Linked DNA regions of Homo sapiens: regions 2 and 3 are each linked to region 1. The links are contacts of gene promoters, found by promoter capture Hi-C in human tissues and cell types (Jung and others, 2019). All regions are on one chromosome and are shown on one strand. Each heading gives the region's core, a stretch centred on a gene start or on the middle of the fragment in contact. The rest is flanking DNA. Distances are from core to core; before and after follow the strand shown. Region 1 holds the start of SLC4A11 (solute carrier family 4 member 11). Region 2 overlaps DNAAF9 (dynein axonemal assembly factor 9). Region 3 has its middle 5.9 kb from the start of AVP.

The links. The method cuts DNA at HindIII sites, captures the fragments that hold promoters and counts their contacts. A contact is called where the count stands out against the background at its distance.
Region 2: a contact is called between a fragment that was not itself captured here and the fragment with the promoter of SLC4A11 in region 1, in 2 of the 25 tissues and cell types used here (dorsolateral prefrontal cortex and liver).
Region 3: a contact is called between a fragment that was not itself captured here and the fragment with the promoter of SLC4A11 in region 1, in 2 of the 25 tissues and cell types used here (dorsolateral prefrontal cortex and spleen).

What each region holds. Positions count from the first base shown.
Region 1 is chr20:3,236,443-3,240,555 of GRCh38, forward strand. SLC4A11 (solute carrier family 4 member 11) reads right to left here and starts at 2,748. Exons shown (of 20, transcript NM_001174089.2): 1 at 2,653-2,748; 2 at 1,102-1,146. The coding sequence starts at 2,695. RefSeq lists silencers at 2,558-2,737, 2,838-2,997. The HindIII fragment of the contact is 33,876 bases long and covers 1-4,113 here.
Region 2 is chr20:3,367,397-3,371,212 of GRCh38, forward strand. The region is part of intron 6 of DNAAF9 (dynein axonemal assembly factor 9); the gene reads right to left. Among named protein-coding and RNA genes, the nearest start is that of DNAAF9, 38 kb to the right of the region's middle. The HindIII fragment of the contact is 4,428 bases long and covers 242-3,816 here.
Region 3 is chr20:3,088,680-3,092,574 of GRCh38, forward strand. No RefSeq gene overlaps it. Among named protein-coding and RNA genes, the nearest start is that of AVP, 5.9 kb to the left of the region's middle. The HindIII fragment of the contact is 7,931 bases long and covers 1-3,895 here.

The DNA of each region.
Region 1 (4,113 bases), core at 1,498-3,997:
GCCGGGTGTGGTGGCGGGCGCCTGTAGTCCCAGCTACTCGGGAGGCTGAGGCAGGAGGCTGGTGTGAACCCAGGAGGCAGAGCTTGCAGTGAGCCGAGATCACACCACTGCACTCCAGCCTGGGCGACAGAGCGAGACTCAAAACAAAACAAAACAAAACAAAACAAAACAAAAGACGTCCTCACTGCTTTGGTTCTGGAGCTCATGATAAACTCCTTCCTCCCCGGGTCAGGCTTGCCTTGTTTAAACTGTCTGGTTCCCCTGGCCCGAACTTGTCCCAGCCTCCCCTCTGCCCCTCAACCAGCACCCACTAGTCCCCTCCACTGCCCTTCACACAGCCCCGTTCTTCCCCCATTCTTCCCCTGATGCCCTCAGCTCTACCTTAGACTTAGTGCTCAGGTCCCCTAGATTAAGGACCTGCCCAGCTGACACTACCAGGTTCCTGGGGGGCTCCTGCAATGCCAAGTCCTAGTCCCAGCCCCATACGTAACCTGCCCACCAGCAGCCTAGCACACAGAGCCCCATGTCCTGAGGGCTCTGGGTAAGGGAACATCAGCCCTGTGTCTACGCACTGCTCTACAAACAACCCTCGAATGGTCAGGTCACTCATGGGGCTAGGCACAGGACACAGCCTGAAGCCAGCCCAGAGACATGAGGAGGAAGACAGCTGGACTGGTACAAGCAGGGACAGCAGGAAGGTGCCCGAGGGACTGCAGCACAGAGGCCTTATATTTCTTTAAAGAGACAACGACAGATATTCCCTCCAGGGCTGGGTGAGGACAGAGGGACAGGGGCACACAGAATTCTTGGCCCAAGGCTAGTCAGATAACAGGCCATTGTCACAGAAAACCTTGGGTAAGAATCCCAGAGGGTTCACCTGGTCCAAGTAGCCCAGGAGAATGGGCAGCCTGCCCTCTCAGGTCCACGGGGGATCCGCCCATGTCTAGCTTCCCGAAGAGTGGAAGCCAAAAGCATTCCAGCACTAGAGTGGCCCAGATAGGCGAGCAAAGCCACAGGACTCTGGTGGGTAGGCTATGCACCCTGGAGGCTTTTGCCCGACAAGCTCTCTCTGCACACACACACTCCCCGAGAGGTACTCACTTGAATCCTCGAAGTATCCATTCTGCGACATGGTGGGAGAGTTTTCTGCAAGGGAAGCAGAAAGGTCACCAGCCCCATGGACCAAGCCCTGGACCTCCTGTGTGCACCTGTCTCCCCGCCCCCCGACCTGGCTCATTCCTTCGCTCTTCCGAGGGATGCAACCCACGCCACCCTAGGGAGAAAGGGAAGCAGGGGACAGTGCTCGGGAGGGGGCCCCATAGCAGGGGAAGCCAGCCTTAATCTCAGAAATTCAATTGCTTAGCCCATCTGCTAGGGGCTGCCCAGGCGGGCCAGAGGCGAGGAGGAGAGACGTTCCAGGGATGTCTTCCCACCGAGTTAGTACCAGTACCATGTTCGCTAATCCAGGTTTTCCTGAGAAAACCCTGCCCCGCTGCAGCGAGAGGAAGGGACCGGGCCCGAGCGGGCCTCTCCCCCTCTCTCCTCGGATGCCAAGGCGGGGGATCTCTCTGCACATCCCTCTTCTCACTCTCAGACCGGTCCTGGGGGCCATAAACGCCCATTGCAGGCGCAGTTCCCCCGACCCCCGTCACGCGCCCCGGGTCACACGGGGGCCGACAGGCAACGGTCTCCAGTCCTGGGACCGCGTCCCGGCCGCCTGGAAGCCAGAGCCGTTGGTCCAAAAGGGAGAACAATTGGGGGTGGGAGGAGTATCTGAGGGACACATGGGTCGGGGGAGGCTGCGCCCTCCCTGGGCCGGTCCCCGGATGGTCCCGGCTGTTTGTGCCTCGCTGTCGGAGGAAGGAAGCGACAGGAGGGGCCGCGTGCACGAGAGGAAAGCGCCTCCAGACTCGGAGACCCCGGGGGTCGGGGCGCAGGATGTGAATGCAGGCGCGGGGCGGGAGCCGGGGCTGCATCCTGAAGTGGGGGGCGGGGGCGCTGGGGCGCGTCCCAGGCCGTGGGCGACGAGGGTCTGGGAGGGTTGGGCCGGTGCACACTCCGCTTCCGTCCCGGCGGCCCACGTGCAGGTAAAGGGTCGTACAAACCTGGGTCCTGGCGGGGACCCAGGGCTGGCCCTCCCGTGTCAGAGCAAGGGAGAAACCGCTGCGGCCGCGCAGGGCACGGTCAGGGGTCCCGGGACTCCCAAAACTCCAGGGGTTCCGGGGCTCCCACCGCGGCGCCGGACGGGAAGATGCCCGGGCGGAAGGTAAAATGAGACCTTCCGAGGCGGCGGCCCGCCAGGCTCCCAAAAGCTCGGCGCTCGGGGCGCTGGGAGCCCCACAGCTCCGCCCTGCCCACTTTCGAGCTCCCCGCCCTCGACCCGCTGCATCAGCTGTTCAAACCTGGTAAGAAATTCAAGACGGCGACAGCAGAGCCCTAATGAAACCAAGCGCGCGGTGGCCGCGAAGCCGCGCCCGGGCCTCCCGCACCCGCGCCCTCCTCCCCGCGGCTGGGAATCCCGCAGCCCTCTCGCCCACCGGCCCCGGCCCGCGCAGGCAGACGGCATCCGCGTTCTCCCCGGGGTCCCCGACGGGAGACGGTGGCGGAGACCCGGGCGGCCTTCCCGCCGCGCCCCCGGGTTCAGGCACCCACCGCACGGCTGCAGATGGAACACGCGCCTGGTGGCCGCGGCCATGGCACACTCGCGCACTCACGGCCGGGCTCCTCACGCGGCGCTCCGGCGCTTCTGGACCCCAAACTCGGCGACTCGGGCGGGCCGGCGGCGGGAGCCGGCGACACACCCCCACGCCGCGCCTGGGTCCTAATGCCGCTCAGACGCCGCGCCCGGGCGCGGTAGGCAGAGCTGCCGAGGGCTGGGACCCGGCCGCCCGCCCCGCGCCCTCACCCGCGGGAGGCTGCTCCAGCCGGGCTGGGCTGCTCCCCGCCGCCCGCAGCTGCTGGGCCAAACCGAGTAGACCCGGCTCCTTCGAGCCTGTGCGCGCCGGACCCAGCAGACCCAGCGTCGCGAGTTTAGGGGCTGGACGGGGCCGGGGAGCTTCTGGGAAAACGTTCGACTGCGCCACGAGCCCACCGAGCTGTGCGACTGAGGCAGACCCCGGGAGGGCTTCCCCCGCGTCCGCTTTAAGTACGCGGCCGGCCCCTGTCTCCTCCTTTCGACCGGGGACCTCCGCAGGGCCACGCCCGCTGGCTGCCCCGCCTCCTGCATTTATCCCGGTAGCTCCGGCCGCAAGTCCTTCTCCTCCTCCTCCAGGAAGCGCGCCCCGACTGACTAGACGGACCTCCGTGCATTCCCCGGGCTACGCCCTCGCCCGCTGAGACGGCGCTCTCCGAGCTCGGCTGCTTTGGGTTTTCGCTGCGAGCCTCGCCAACTTATCTGCCAGCCTCTTCACGTCCTCGGCCTTCTATGAGGTCAAGGTCATGGTTCGCCCCCTTTTTCCTTCCCCAAATGGCCCTTGCGCCCTGTCCCCTTTCCTGGACCGGCTGCGACCCGCCCGGGGACGCGCCTTTTCGGGGCGCTTAGTCTCCTGCGAGTAGGGCGTGTGCGCGTGTGGGTGCGCGTGCTGCGATGCGATCCGGCAAATGCAGCTGACGAACCCCTGGCCTGATCCACGGTGGCTCCCAGTAGAAGGCTCTACAGCCCTTGGAAACGGAACACGCAGCTCCGTAAAGCGCTAACCAACCTCCCGACCCCTCCGGCCGCCATCGCTTTCCGGCTCAGCCGCGCTGGGACGGAGTCCTCGGCCACTGTGCCCTAACCATGGTAGAGGAACGGGGACAGGCCGGGGCAAGCCCACCTCTGCGAAGGAAGGGCTTCTGGCGCGTTGGGGAAGCCTCATGCATAGATTGGGTGAGTAAGGCTGGCCCAGTTCTCCTCCCGGCAAGATAAGAACGCATTAGGAGGGAAGCGCTGGAGTGCTCCTCTTGGCGACGGATGGCCTGGGGCTCTGCGACAGACTGAGTACCCCACCCTCCCCCAGCGCGACTCCAGGAGGCCTTGTGGAAGATCCCAACACCATGACCTGCAACTGACTTGGGGCTGGCCACATAGTATTTTAGCAGGGGTGACTCTGGAGAGACACCAGGTCATCCTGC
Region 2 (3,816 bases), core at 1,206-3,705, 130 kb after region 1:
TTTCCTTTGCATTCACAACTTAGCTGTTTGGTGCAAGAGGTCTAGCTTTCAGCCTGTCTTGGCTTTCAACATGCCTCCTTCACCAAGCTTAACCATTTCCAGCTTTTGATTTAAAATGAGAGAATTGTGACTCTTCCTTTCACTTGAACCTTTATTGGCCATTGTAGGGTTATTAATTGGCCTAATTTCAATATTGTTATGGTCAATGAATAGGGAAGTCAGGATAAAGCAAAAAACGAGGGAACAGCCAGTCAGTGAAGCAGTCAGAACACACACATCATTTAAGTTCATCATCTCATATGAGTGCAGTTTGTGATGCCCCAAAACAATTCTGATGGTAACATCAGAGATCACTCATCATGGATTATCATAACAGATATAATAAAAATGAAAAAGCTTGAAATATTATGAGAATTACCAAAATGCGACACAGAGACACAAAGTGAACACGTGCTGTTGGAAAATTGGAGCCAACAGGCTTGCTGGATGCAGGCTGCCACAAACCATCAATTTGTTTAAAAAAAAAAAAAAGCAATATCTACAAAGTGCAGCAAACCAAAGCACAATAAATTAAGATAGGCCTGTATGTGTTTTGCCAGTCTAACTGGTGAAAACAGGCACTGTTCTCAGCCCAGAACACACATCAGGCACTATCCTCGAATCCTTTCAGATAGGTTTCTCTTGACCTTGAGTAGTTACCACACACATGACTGCACTGATCAGTATTCTGCTGAGTACCGACTGGGGCAAGGGGAATCTTTGGACGGTTCTTTCCTCTTTAGTACTCTAACTGCTTTGGTCCCCGCAGACTCCCAGCTGCATCTCCTAACTCAGGGAGTGCGCTGGGCACCACCTGGATCCTCTCTTCTCTATGCTGTGTCTGGAAACTTTCTCAAAGTGATAAGCTAGTACCATCAAGGGGCTCACATTGATTGTTTCCGTCTCTCAGGGAATCAGGATTCCTCACTGCCTGATGCCTAGTTTGTGTTTTTGTTTTGGGGGGCTTTTGTTGGTTTGGGAACCAGTTTTTGTTGTTTTGTGGTGGGTGACTTGTTTTTTCTTCCTGGAAGCCTTTTTTTTTCTTTTTTGGCCAAACTTACTGACCAACTTCCTGGAAGCTTTTTTTTTTTTTTTGAGACAGAGTCTTGCTCTTTCGCCCAGGCTGGAGTGCAGTGGCATGATCTCAGCTCACTGAAAGCTCCGCCACCCAGGTTCACGCCATTCTCCTGCCTCAGCCTCCCGAGTAGCTGGGACTACAGGTGCCCGCCACCAAGCCCGGCTAATTTTTGTATTTTTTTTTTTAAGTAGAGACAGGGTTTCACCGTGTTAGCCAGGATGGTCTCGATCTCCTGACCTCGTGATCCCTCCGCCTCGGCCTCCCAAAGTGCTGGGATTACAGGCATGAGCCACTGCGCCCGGCCATCCTGGAAGCTTTTAAAGATATTCTTTCATCCAGGCTGGGTGCAGGTGGCTCACGCCTGTAATCCCAGCTTTCAGAAGCCGAGAAGGCAGATCACCTGAGGTCAGGAGTTTGGGACCACCCTGGCCAACAAGGTGAACCCCATTTCTCTAAAAATACAAAATTAGCCAGGCATGGTGGAGCATGCCTGTAATCCCAGCTTCTCGGGAGGTTGTGGCAGGAGAATCGTTTGCACCTGGGAGGCAGAGGTCGCAGTGAGCCAAGATCGTGCCATTGCACTCCAGCCTGGGCAAGGAGAGTAAAACTCTGTCTCAAAAAAAAAAAAAAGGATATTCTTTTATCCTTAGTGTCTGAAATGTCACGGACAGATTTAAGGGTTTTTTTTCCTCTTCCCATTCATACTTAAGTGATTTAATTTAAAACCTTTTATTTCTCTTTATGATTGGGAATGTTTATGTTTTAAAAAGATTTCTTCCCTTATGGTATCGTGGCCTCCTCTTTCCAGAAATTCTACTCATTGGATATTAGACTTCTTAGATCAGTCTTCTAACATTTAAAGTTAACTTTTTTTTTTTTTTCAGATGGAGTCTCGCTCTTTCGCCCAGGCTGGAGTGTAGTGGTGCGATCTCAGCTCACTGCAACCCCCACTTCCTGGGTTTAAGCAATTCTCCTGCCTCAGCCTCCCAGGTAGCTGGGACTACAGGCGTGTGCCACCACACCCGGCTACTTTTCTATTTTTAGTAGAGACGGGGGTCTCGCTGTGTTGACCGAGCTGGTCTTGAACTCCTGACCTCAAGTGATCTGCCTGCCTCAGCCTCCCAAAGTGCTGGGATTACAGGTGTGAGCCACCAAGCCCGGCCTAAAGTTAACTTTAAAGGTTAAAGTCTTTTAACTTTTTTATCAATATTTTCTATCTCCGTGATGTTTTTATTTTACCTTTCTAAGGAGTTTCCTAACTTTACCTTCCACCCCTCTATTGATTTTATCAATTATGATTTCCTAGAGCTCGTATTTTCCATACATTCAGTTATTACAACATTCACTTGTCCTATGGTTGACAAATCTTACATTTTTCTGGGCATCCAAAAAGAGTTTTATGTCAAGTTTTCTTCTATACCTTAAATTATCTTTGGGTCTTAATGAACTGGTCTTCTTTTAAAAAAAAAAATTGATCTTTTTCTTTTGAGTTACTGCTGTTTAATCAAATGTCTGGTGATCTTTGGCTTCCTATTCATACTTTGAAATGAGGCAATGAAAAGGCTAACTGGAAGGTGTATATTCCTGATAACTGTTATGCAGAGCTTCTATTACTGGGTCTCCATCCCCTTATATTCTACATGCCAAAATGTGAACAGGTTTACTCTCAGGAAGCAAAAACTACACTAGCCAATGAAATCTCTTGGTTTTGTCTTGCCTTTCAGTTTATTTATTTCATTTTTATTTATTTATTTTGAGACAGTGTCTCACTCTGTTGCTCAGGCTGGAGTGCAGTGGTTCAATCAGCCCACTGCAGCCTGGAGCTCCAGGGCTCAAGCTATCCTCCGGCCTCAGCCTCCCAAGTAGGTGGGACTGTAGGTACATGCCACTGTGCCTCGCTAATTTTTTTTTTTTTGAGATGGAGTCTCACACTGTCGTCCAGCTGGAGTGCAGTGGCATGATCTTGGCTCACTGCAGCCTCCACCTCCCAGGTTCAAGTGATTCTCCTGCCTCAGCCTCCTGAGTAGCTGGGATGACAGGTGCCTGCCACCATGCCCAGCTAATTTTTGTATTTTTAGTAGAGACGGGGTTTCACCATGTTGGCCAGGACGGTCCCGATCTCTTGACCTCATGATCCACCCGCCTCAGCCTCCTAAAGTGCTCAGATTACAGGCTTGAGCCACCGCGCCCAGCCGTGCCCGACTAATTTTTTTAAAATTTTTTTGTTGCCAGGCTGGTCTTGAACTCCTGGCTTCACGCGATCCTCCCGCCTTGGCCTCCCAAAGTGCTAGGCTTGATTACAAGTGTGAGCCACTCACCAGGCCCTTTTCAGTTTTTTTACAAAACCTCCACCCAAATCTCTTCTTTGTTTTTCCTAGGGTGGAGGTGGCATCTGCAAATGCCTGGTTGACTGTCACTTGAGGGGAGAGGAGAGCGGTAGAGGGAGGTACAGACTATTACATAACAACCTTTAATTTAATTCTTTCCTTTCAATATCACCAATTTCCATTCTCTATTCTCCACTTCATCATCTTCCTTCCCATTGCTTTAATCTACTTGGCCCCTTCCTCTGTATTCTGGAAAAGCTTTTCAAGTGTGTCAACTGATTAGATTTTTTATATCTTTTTTTAATGTAAGTTTTCATTCTACTAATAAATTTTGAGACTTCCTACAATCTTTTCTTATATGTCTTCCATCTC
Region 3 (3,895 bases), core at 1,211-3,710, 150 kb before region 1:
GATCAGTATTACAAGTTAGATTGCAATTCTGCCCTCTGAGCTAAGCCACGTAGTATATTATGATGATCTTTCTATCTGTGAACAACTTTTTGTATTCCTTGGAGTTAGTGGTCATCTTGGTTTTTCATTTGTGGTCCATCTGCCCTTTGTTTTTGTTTTTGTTTTTGTTTTTGTTTTTAGAGATGGGGTCTCACTCCACCTGCCATTTATCCAGAAGTCAACATTTATTCTTCAACTCCCTCCACCTGGGCTTCTGCTCAAACCAGCCCATTGAAACTCCTGTTGTCAAGGTGTTAAACTACTTCCATATTGAAAAATGTGGTCGGCTGGGCGCAATGGCTTACACCTGTAATCCCAGCACTTTGGGAGGCCGAGGCCGGTGGATCACGAGGTCAGGTGTTCGAGACCAGCCTGGCCAGCATAGTAAAACCTCGTCTCTACTAAAAATAGAAAAATTAGCCGGGCGTGGTGGCACCTGCCTGTAATCCCAGCTACTCGGGAGGCTGAGGCAGGAAAATCGCCTGAACCCAGGAGGCGGAGGTTGCAGTGAGCCAAGATCGTGCCACTGCACTCCAGCCTGGGCAACAGAGCAAGACTCCGTCTCAAAAAAAAAAAAAAAAAAAAAAAAACGAAAAATGTGGTGGTGATGTCTATGTCCTTATTTCACATGATCTAGCAGCATTTGACATGGGTGAACACTTATCCTTTTCTTTTTTTTTTTTTTTCTGAGACGGAGTCTTGCTCTGTCGCCCAGGCTGGAGTGCAGTGGTGTGATCTCCGCTCACTGCAAGCTCCGCCTCCTGGGTTCATGCCATTCTCCTGCCTCAGCCTCCCGAGTAGCTGGGACTACAGGTGCCCGCCACCGCGCCCGGCTAATTTTTTGTATTTTTAGTAGAGACGGGGTTTCACCGTGTTAGCCAGGATGGTCTCGATCTCCTGACCTCATGATCTGCCTGCCTCGGACTCCCAAAGGGCTGGGATTATAGGCGTGAGCCACCGCGCCCGGCCACACTTATCCTTTTCTGAAACACACTTTGTTTGGTTCCACCGATGCTACACTCTCTTGGTTTTCCTTCTGTTACACCGGGTGTTCTCTCTGTCTCCGTTTCTGGCTCCTTCTCTTTGACCTTGACTTCTAAACGTTGGAGCATCCCAGGAATCAGTCCTGTGTCCCTTCTCTTCCTGGGTGATCCCACAATTTTATATACTTACTACAAGCTAATAATTCCCAAACTGGTATTTCCATCCTGGGCCTCTCCCCAAAGAGCCAGACTTATAGTTTCAACTGCCCAGTGACACCTCACATTGGATATCCAATAGGCTTCTCCAACTTAACAAAGTCAACACGCAACTCCAGATTCTCAGCTGTTTCCCTGCTCTTCCAGGGTTCCCACCTGTGTGATCTTACCACCATCCAACCAGCTGCTCCTCCCAGAACCTGAGACTCACCCTGGGTCTTCTCTTTCCCTCACTGTTGCTTATGTTACCTCTAAAATCAGTCTCAACTCCAACTGCTGCTTTGGGATCTGAGATCCTGCTGTTTCCGTGTCCTGGAAGATTCCTCTACCCGCACCCTCCCCAGGATTCATTTGATTGGTTTAAATGGCATCTCTTAAGAGGAGGCTCCCCTGACTGCCCTATCTAGAGCATCCCCCATCTCTGTTATCTTCTGTCTGGGACTATGTTGATGAATTTCATAGCACCTACTGCAATTCACAATTCATTTTTTGTGTGTCTATCTTTTTGTGTGTGTATGCCTATAACCCCTTTAAAATGAAACACCAGGGCAGAAAGGAAGGACTCTACCTTTCATGCTCAGTACGGTAACCCCACTCCAGGTAGAGGGTGTTCAATAAATTATGGAAAGAAGGAAGGGAAGCTCTGGGTACCAGCTTCAGCTCTCCAGGGAGTTCTGTGTGACCCAGGGCAAGTCACACCTGTTCCCAAGGTTATTTACTTGAAGTACTAACCCCACTTCCTGTCCCACTGAGGTCTTAAGGGAATCAGATGAGGGTGCCATAAAGGGTTAAGATTTCTGCAATCCTTACATAATAAAACGTGGCAAGCCTCCAGATGAAACCCCAAATGTCAGAATGTTCTATAAAGTACTTCCTTACCCTTAGACCACCTTTTCTGAGAAGAAGTAACAGTTAACTAATCTTAGCAGAGCATCTGCCCTGCCCACACCTTCTGTTTCTTATTCCCCTGCTGTATATACCATAGAACATCTCCACTACTGCCAGAGAGGGCATGGCCTCATTTTCTTTCTATCTTTTTTCCTTTTTAATTTTTTTTTTTTTTTTTTTTTTTTTTGTAGAGATGAGGGTCTCACTGTGTTGCCCAAGCTAGTCTCAAACCCCTGGTCCCAAGTAATCCTCCCACCTTGGCTTCCCAAAGTGCTGCAATTACAGGCGTGAGCCACTGTGCCTGGCCATTGGCTTCATGTTCTTTTTCTTTTCTTTTCTTTTTTTCTTTTTCTTTTTTTTTTTTTTTTTTTTTGAGACAGTGTCTCGCTCTGTCGCCCAGGCTGGAGTGCAGTGGTGCGATCATGGCTCACTGCAAACTCTACCTCCTGGGCTTAAGAGTGATCCTCCCACCTCAGCCTCCCGAGTGGCTGGAACCACAGCACCATGCCCAGCTAATCTTTGTTTTTGTGCAGACAGGATTTCACCATTTTCCCCAGGCTGGTCTCAAACTCCCGAGCCCAAATGATGTGCCCACCTTGACCTCCCAAAGTGCCGGGATTACAGGCATGAGCCACCGTGCCTAGCTGGCTTCATTTTCAAAAGAACACTGCTGGTAGCAGTAAGTCCAGCTTTCTCTCTTTTCACCTGTTGGCTCACTGCAACCTCCGCCTCCCGGGTTCAAGCAATTCTCGTGCCTCAGCCTCCCTAGTAGCTGGGATTACAGATGCTCACCACCATGCCTGGCTAATTTTTGTATTTTTTGTAGAAATGGGCTTTCACCATGTTGGCCAGGCTGGTCTCGAACTCCTGACCTCAAGTGATCCGCCTACCTCTGCCTCCCAAAGTGCTGGGATTACCGGTGTGAGCCACGGCGCCAGCCTCCAGTAGTATTTTTGAGGACCCACACAAATGCTCTGTAAACTATGAAGAGGGGAACAAGAGCAAACAAAAGATGTTGTGGGAGCCCAAGACCTGCTTACTGAATTGAATCAAAGAGGATACATTGAGCAGGGATGAGAAACCTCTGAGAAAAATGCTGAGCCTGAGGGGACAGGTATGGAACTGAAATGGATCCACTGCAGGACCAAGTAAAAAAGGGCGGGGGAGGCCTTCTGCTCTTTCCAGACCAAGGCACATCTCAGCTGGATTGAAGAGCTAAATAGAATAAAATCAGCCGACAAGCTGGGCGCGGTGGCTCATGCCTGTAATCCCAACACTTTGGGAGGCCGAGGCGGGCAGATCACGAGGTCAGGAGTTCAAGACCATCCTGGCCAACATGGTGAAACCCCGTCTCTACCAAAAATACAAAAAAAAATGAGCTGGGCATGGTGGTGCGCGCCTGCAGTCTTAGCTGCTTGGGAGGCTGAGGCAGGAGAATCACTTGAACCCAGGAGGCGGAGGTTGCAGTAAGCCAAGATCGCGCCACTGCACTCCAGCCTGGGCGACAGAGTGAGACTCCGTCTCAAAAAAAAATCAGCTGACGAGGGCCGGGGAGCGGCGGGGAGGGGATGCGGGAAGCCAGGTCTGAATATTTATCGTATCTCTAGAGGGGGGTTACATTAAACTTTTAAAAGAAATCAGAAATGAAAAGACAATAAAAATTCTTTAACTTGCAAAAATAACCTAAGTAAAAGGCAAAATAAACGAAGAAAAATATTTTTGACAAACTCGTTTCTATATGGAAAACCTGTACGGCAGCAAGACCTGTA